Linked DNA regions of Homo sapiens: region 1 is linked to region 2. Evidence: promoter capture Hi-C in 16 types of primary human blood cells and fetal thymus (Javierre and others, 2016). All regions are on one chromosome and are shown on one strand. Each heading gives the region's core, a stretch centred on a gene start or on the middle of the fragment in contact. The rest is flanking DNA. Distances are from core to core; before and after follow the strand shown. Region 1 overlaps KDM6A (lysine demethylase 6A). Region 2 holds the start of DUSP21 (dual specificity phosphatase 21).

Evidence for each region. Contacts are between HindIII fragments. The CHiCAGO score rates a contact against its expected background, and 5 or more counts as called.
Region 1: a contact is called between a fragment that was not itself captured here and the fragment with the promoter of DUSP21 in region 2, in 1 of 17 cell types (neutrophils). The highest score is 5.4, in neutrophils.

The regions. Positions count from the first base shown.
Region 1 is chrX:45,046,897-45,050,401 of GRCh38, reverse strand. The region is part of intron 8 of KDM6A (lysine demethylase 6A); the gene reads right to left. Among named protein-coding and RNA genes, the nearest start is that of DIPK2B, 150 kb to the left of the region's middle. The HindIII fragment of the contact is 5,227 bases long and covers 1-3,505 here.
Region 2 is chrX:44,841,677-44,845,453 of GRCh38, reverse strand. It overlaps DUSP21 (dual specificity phosphatase 21), which reads right to left and starts at 1,433. Exons shown (of 1, transcript NM_022076.4): 1 at 566-1,433. The coding sequence starts at 1,321. The coding sequence ends at 749. The HindIII fragment of the contact is 1,701 bases long and covers 1,241-2,941 here.

The DNA of each region.
Region 1 (3,505 bases), core at 35-2,534, 210 kb before region 2:
AAGGAAGATTTGAAAGAACTGTCTATTGAGATGATCAGTTTTTTCGTTTGTTTGTTTTTTTGAGACGGAGTGTCGCCCTTGTTGCCCAGGCTGGAGTGCAATGGCACGATCTCAGTTCACTGCAACCTCCGCCTCCCGGGTTCAAGTGAATTCTCCTGCCTCAGCCTCCCGAGTAGCTGGGATTATAGGCATGTGCCACCACGCCCGCCTACTTTTGTATTTTTAGTAGAAATGGGGTTTCTCCATGTTGGTCAGGCTGGTCTCGAATTCCCAACCTCAGGTGATCCGCCCGCCTTGGCTTCCCAAAGTGTTGGGATTACAGGCGTGAGCCACCGCGTCCAGCGATCCAGAGTTATTAAATCAACTTTTACTTATCAGCTAAACTAGTTCCCCCAAAACACTCATCTGGTCTAAAAAAAGTTAATTAGATAGTTAGGCCAAGGATAAGGGCCAAGTTATTCAATTCCTTCAATTGATAAATATTTGTTAAACACCTAATACATAACAGGAACTGCTAAGACTACACAGTAGTGAAAAATATATACAAGAAAAACAAATTAAGCATATTGTGCTGTGTATGATAACATTATAATACTTCTCAGAGGAAGAACGAGCGCATATTAAGTTTAGAGTACTAGCAGGCTGGACAGAAAATGCAAAGACTACTTCACAAAGACCTCCCTAATCCATTTAAAGACTACTGACTGTATCCTAAAACAATGGAGAACCACTGAATGATTTCAAGTAATGTAATCAGATTTAAATTTTAGGAAAACCACCTTCATGAATTATCTTAACAAATGTTAAAATATACCTCCCAACACTGTAATAAAAACAATGATCTACTTGAAAAAATGGTAGCATCATATTTGGAAATATGAAATTAGATTTCTACCTCATACCATATACAACAAAACCAGCAACTGCATTAAAGACCTGAATATGAAAGGTAAAAGTATAAAGTTAAGAGAAGAAAATGTAGAAGAATGTTTCCTTGAGATGGGAGAGAATTTATTGGACATGACCAAAAAAACACAAATCATAAGGAAGAGTAAAGATCTGACTCAAAAAGCATAGGCAGAGAAACAGGCAATGGACATAAGTAATCCAACACATAAAAGGTGAAAAACAATGTGAGTAACTATACTCCTCTAGAAATCAGAACATACAAGTTTAAATGACACAACAGCTTCTACCTTTAAGACTGGCAAACATAAATTTGAGTAATTCCAAGTATTGTAGAGATGTGAGTAAAGGAGAACACTCACGTCCTGGTGGAAGGGGATTTACTCAAAAAATTAGGAATACAAATATGCTACAATCTAGCAATCTTACTCTTGGAATATGTATGCCAAGGAAACCTTTCCACAGGTAATGTTCTGAACAGTACTGCTTGTAGTATGGAGAAGTTGGGGGGCAACCTAAGTGTCTGTCACTAGACAAGTAGAAGCAAAATACAATGGATGCTTATAGTAGTACATTAATTAGCAATTATAAACGATGTGTAAAAAAGTAACTTGAGTTTATCTTTAATAGTGTTGAGTAGAAGTTTTGCCTCTGACAATATTTGGAGTGACATTCCACACACAGCTTCACATTCTGGATAAAATATAAAAGTCAACTACCAGATGGCACTGGAGAGAGACCAAAATCAGGCAAAACCAAAGGAAAAGTTCACACTTAAAGGAAGGAAACGGCACTAGATGAGTAACTCCCTTTTTCTTGGATTTTCACCTGAAGGCAGGCTTCAACTGGTACTTTGGCTGGCTAGAACTCAAATAGAAATGGCAGTCTTACTAGGCTGAAGAATCATAGGACAGCTTTTGAGGCTACCATAAAGAGTTGGAAGTGAGGGGAGAAATCCCAGTCAGGAGACAGAGAGTGGAAACACCAAATTCCACACATAAACTCTGCCCAAAGCTCTGACTGCCGAATTATGCATGAACAGAACAGATAATGAGCAGCCTAAAAGAACTAGAGAGAGATTTCAGTTGCTGCCATTACAAGGGTGACAAAGTTTAGAGTGTGAGTTAACTGGCTAATAAAGCAAAAATATATCAATCTTCAGAAAAATATAGTCAATCTCCACAATGTATTACTCATGATATGCAGGATAAAAATTATTAAACTTATGAAGATCAGGAAAATTTCACCTATATTCAAAAGAAAAGAAAATTAATGAAAACCAGCTGTGAAATTACTCAGATGTTGAAATTTGTAGTTTTTTTTTTTTTTTTTTTTTGAGACGCACTTTCACTGTGTCGCCCAGGCTGGAGTGCAGTGGCACAATCTTGGCTCACCGCAACCTCTGCCTCCTGAGTTCAAGCGATTCTCCTGCCTCAGTCTCCCGAACAGCTAGGATTACAGGCACGCCATCACACTTGGCTAATCTTTTGTATTTTTAGTAGAGATGGGGGTCTCGCCATTTTGGCCAGGCTGGTCTTGAACTCCTGACCTTAGGTGATCTGCCCACCTTGGTCTCTCACAAGTGCTGGGATTACAGGCATGAGCTACTGCGCCTAGCCCTGTAGATAATTTTAAAGCAGATATTCAGGCTGAGTGTGATGGCACGCGCCTGTAGTCTCAGCTACTTGGAAGGCTGAGGCACGAGAATCGCTTGAACCTGGGAGGCAGGGGTTGTGGTGAGCCAAAATTATGCCATTGCACTCCAGCCTGGGCAAGAGAGCCAGATCCTGTCAAAAAAAAAAAAAAAAAAAAAAAAAAAAAGAAAAAAAAAGCAAGCAGATATTTGAAGAATGTGGACAAAAGAAAAACATAATCCTAATGAATTAATGTATAAAAAATCATACTCCAGAAAGAGAAACAAAAGGAAATTCCAGAATTGAAAAAATGTTAATCTGAAATTTAAAAAAGAAAATCACTATATGGATTGAATAGCAGATTGGAAAGTATATTTAAAAAAAAAAAGAAATCAATGCATTTGAAAACAAGTCACTAGAAAGCATACAGATTGAAGCAGAAACACACACATACAAACACACAAAAGTTAAAAGTTAAAAAAAAAAAAAGAAAGCATCTAAGATGTTTGAGGCAATAGCATATAGTCTACCATACATGTAATTGGAGTCCGAGAAGAAGAGAAAAACGGTGGAGCAGAAAAAATATTTGACAAATCAATGGCTGAGAATTTTCCAAAACTGATAAAAAAAAAATCAAACCCCAGACTTAAAATACTATTAGTATAATTATAAAGAAAAAAAATATCTGAGCACATTGAAGTCAAATTTTTGAAAACCAAATATAAAGAGAAAAACCTTTTAAAAGCAACCAGAGAAAAACAATACAATACAAAGAATACAACAGGAATGACAGCTAACTTTATCCAACCATATCAATAATCAAATTAAGTATAAATGAACTAGACACTCCAAACCACCACCACCACCACCACCACCACCATCATCACCACCAATAAAAGAGACTGCCAGAATAGAGCTACAAAAGTAAGAGCCAAGAACATTATACTTATGGGATGGACATTACA
Region 2 (3,777 bases), core at 184-2,683:
GGCCTGTTCTCTCTCAGTATATGCCCTGGGAAAAGGACTATGTCCCTTTTCACAAAGGCCGGTGGGAGATCACCAAAGACACCTTGAGAACTTGCCATCAAGTACAGCAGTCAAAAAAATACAATATTTTTAAACTTTATGGAGTGGAATGGTCTTTTAAAAAACTAGTTTTTTTTTTTTTAACTAATGTATAAATCCGATCTAGAAAACCAGAGATGGGCCACTGTGATTGAAGGTGGGCAAGGGTAGCCTGAGACTCCTCCAGAGCTCCTGGAGCACAGCTTGAATGAAAGCCACTTATCCACTAGGTTGGCACTTACTGGGAGAAGTGCAAGGGATGCCAAGATGTCTAAGGCTTTGACTTTGGGTTGGAAAGAACCGGGTGAGATTCTAGGGGATTCACTCCTGGGTTAGTCAGCCTCTGGCAGGGCTCAGGATTCCAGGTCTGCCACATGTATTGGGTGCTGCTGGCAGGTCTATGTGAGCTGAGCATTACTTGCCCCACCCTGGTTCCAGCCAGGCCCCAATAGCTTGACCTCACAATATAAAAAATATTTTCACTATCTTATGTTTCATGAATTTAATTCTATTAAGGTAAGGCTTACTACGTTCAAAACTCCAACCCCCTCCCTTTTTTCTTGCCCTTTAACAAGGCACCATCCGGTTTTCTTTACTAACAAAATGTCAGTGTTCAAGTTCAGTCTTGGTGCAAGATCGATGGCAGATGTCAGGGGCTGGCCGGGATGGCTTACATTGATATCATCATACGTAGGTCCTTCTCATAGATGTCAGGGATGTTACCTACCGGCGAGTTGATCATGCGCACGGTGTTGTTATTAAACAGCTTGAATTCGTAATTGATGAGCTGTTCCCAAAAGCCGTTGTTGGGCCGGATGATGGGGCGGCGCGACTTGGTCCATGTATGGGCGTCCAGCAGCGACATGGAGTGGTATTTCATGAGGTACGCAAGGCACAGTGAGGCGGAACGGCTCACTCCAGCCATGCAGTGCAGCAGCGTACGGCCCTGCCTCATATCGATGGTGTGGATAAGATCAGCAATGGGGTCAAAAAAGTCGTAGAGACGCGAGTCACGAGCATCGGTAACAGGCACCTTTATGTACTGAATGCCCTCGAAGAATACGTTGACCACTTCCACCGAGGCATTGACAATGGCGGTGATGCGATTGCTGGACAGAAGGAGTTTGTCGTTGGCGGCCACACCATTGCTGAGAAACAAGCTTCTGGTTATTTGGGAGAAGCTGTAGATGGAGGGCTGCTGGACACCCTGAGATGATGAAAAGGAGGACGCGGATGCTGTCATCAAGGCGGCTGGTCCGAGGTCTCTCTACGCTGGTTCGGGACACAACACTTACCAAGCTAGTTCAGGATAGCAGCCGCGCCGCCAAGTCTCAGGCTAGGTGTTGGAGAAAGAGGACCAGCTATCGGCCACCACCCTCTTTCTGTCTCCTCTCACCACTCCCATCTGGGCGTCACAATCCCGGACAGATAGCCCTGCGGCTCCGGTTTCCATGGCAATGGCCGCTTGCCGCAAGGAGGACAGGGCCTCTAAGCAGGGTCTTCAGAGACACCCCAGTCTCTTTTCTTTTTATCTTTCTTCATAGTCATTTATTTTCCAAGGCCTAATTCTTATCTTTCTTGACTTTTAAAAATGTTCTGTTACAAGATATCTATTTTATGTTTCAATTATTGGACCACGTTAAACAAGATCTATGAATACTTCTATTTCATCAGTGTTGCAGAACAGGGCTTACACTTTCCCTGCAAAATAGCAATATCACATTCTAAGTTGGGGAACAGCATTTGGCTCATGTGATATGCTAATCTCTATAAAACTGGAGCGAGATATGGGATTTGGCTGGGCTTGGTGGACTGGCCTGATACTTCTTTGTTGATTGTAACCATAAAATTATTTTCCTGCTTACAAACACATCAGGGCTGGTTGTAAGAGAGCATTGCTAACTGATATATAGCCCTTTATCTTGAAGTTGGCCTGTGGTGGACAGTTGTGACTAATTTAGCTGTGTCATAGTCCATTTGTACATACAGCTCAAATGACTTACCGCATGAGTCTATTTTATTACCTGAAACAACAGTTCAAATTATTTTGTTTACTTTCTTCAAAAAAAAATGCCTACATGCTTTGTGAACTACAAATCACTTTGACCACTACCGATGCTGTCTTCCCAGTAATATTAAACATTCTGAAACAAGTTAATGCTACATGGTAATTGGGCCAAAAATTGAGACAGTTTTGCTCTGTCACCCAGGCTGGAGAGTCCCAGGCCTCTGCTTCCTGGGTTCAAGTGATTCTTGTGCCTTAGCCTACCGAGTAGCTGGGATTACAGGAACGCACCACCACACCTGGCGAATTCTTGTATTTTTAGTAGAGACAGGATTTCACCATGTTGGCCAGGCTGGTCTCAAACTCCTGACCTCAGGTGATCCACCGGCCTCGGCCTCCCAAAGTGCTGGGATTACATGCACGAGCCACAGCACTCAGCCCAAAAATTAATTTCTAAAATGTAACCTGACATTTGCATTTCCTTCCAGCTAAGATTTTTATAGAATTTGGCTGAAAATTGAAAAGAACTATAGCCTAAAACTAACAAATTGTTTCACAGAGTAGCCAATTGACTCACATACTTTGCTCTCATTCCATCATCATTTTGGTATGTGTTCAAAGGTGTGCTGTGATTACGAACAAAGATGAAATAGATACCAGGCTGCTTATGATGGTCAAGGAAATGATAACCTCAAAACACAACACACGTTTCTTTTCTCAGTTGTCATAATCAAATTATTTTGCATTACTTAAATTGTCAGTCCCCACAAAGCTATCTGGAAGAAAATAGAACACGAATACTAAATAAATATGAAAACTGTTTGTTGGGGGCAGCTCAGCTGGGCTAACGGAGAAGCTTTGTAATCTATGTAGTAATGTGGAGGCCCTAAACTAGTATTGGAGTCTACTTATTTCATAAGTATACACTTCTTAAACTTTAAAACTAAGTACAATTAACAAAATAATTTCAGACACTATTTTCTTTTCTTTTTTTTATTTTTATTTTTTTTGAGACGGAGTTTTGCTCTTGTTGCCCAGGCTGGAGTGCAGTGGCGCGATCTTGGTTCACCACAACCTCCGCCTCCCAGGTTCAAGCCATTCTCCTGCCTCAGTCTCATGAGTAGCTGGGATTACAGGCTCGCGCCACCATGCCCAGCTAATTTTTTGTATTTTTAGTAGAGACGAGGTTTCACCATGTTGGCCAGGCTGGTCTCAAACTCTCGACCTCAGGTGACCCACCCACCTCGGCCTCCCAAAGTGCAGGGATAACAGGCATGAGCCACCGCGCCCGGCCTCAGACACTATTTTCAAAGACAAGCATGACCCGTGTTAAATAGATTCATTTATTTATTCTTCATATTCTGTGACACCTGTTAGTCTGAGGGATGTTGGATGTTTTAAAATTCCGCTATGGAGCTTTTCCTGGATAGATAACGTTTTCTCCCCTTGAGTTTGGAAGCAGGTCACTTTCAGATCCCACTTGTCTCTACTTTTCCTTTTTTTTTTTTTTTTTTTTAACACACTGATGGAGGCAATTTTCCTTGTTATTTAGTGAAGAAAATGTGCAATGGACTTGCCCAATAACACACTCTCTTTCCACCGCTGGGAAAACACCCTGGATGTTAAGAACTAGTTAATGTTCAAATTTCTCAATTCAGTAGTCAAAGCCCTTTCTAATCTAAGCCTGCCTTTCA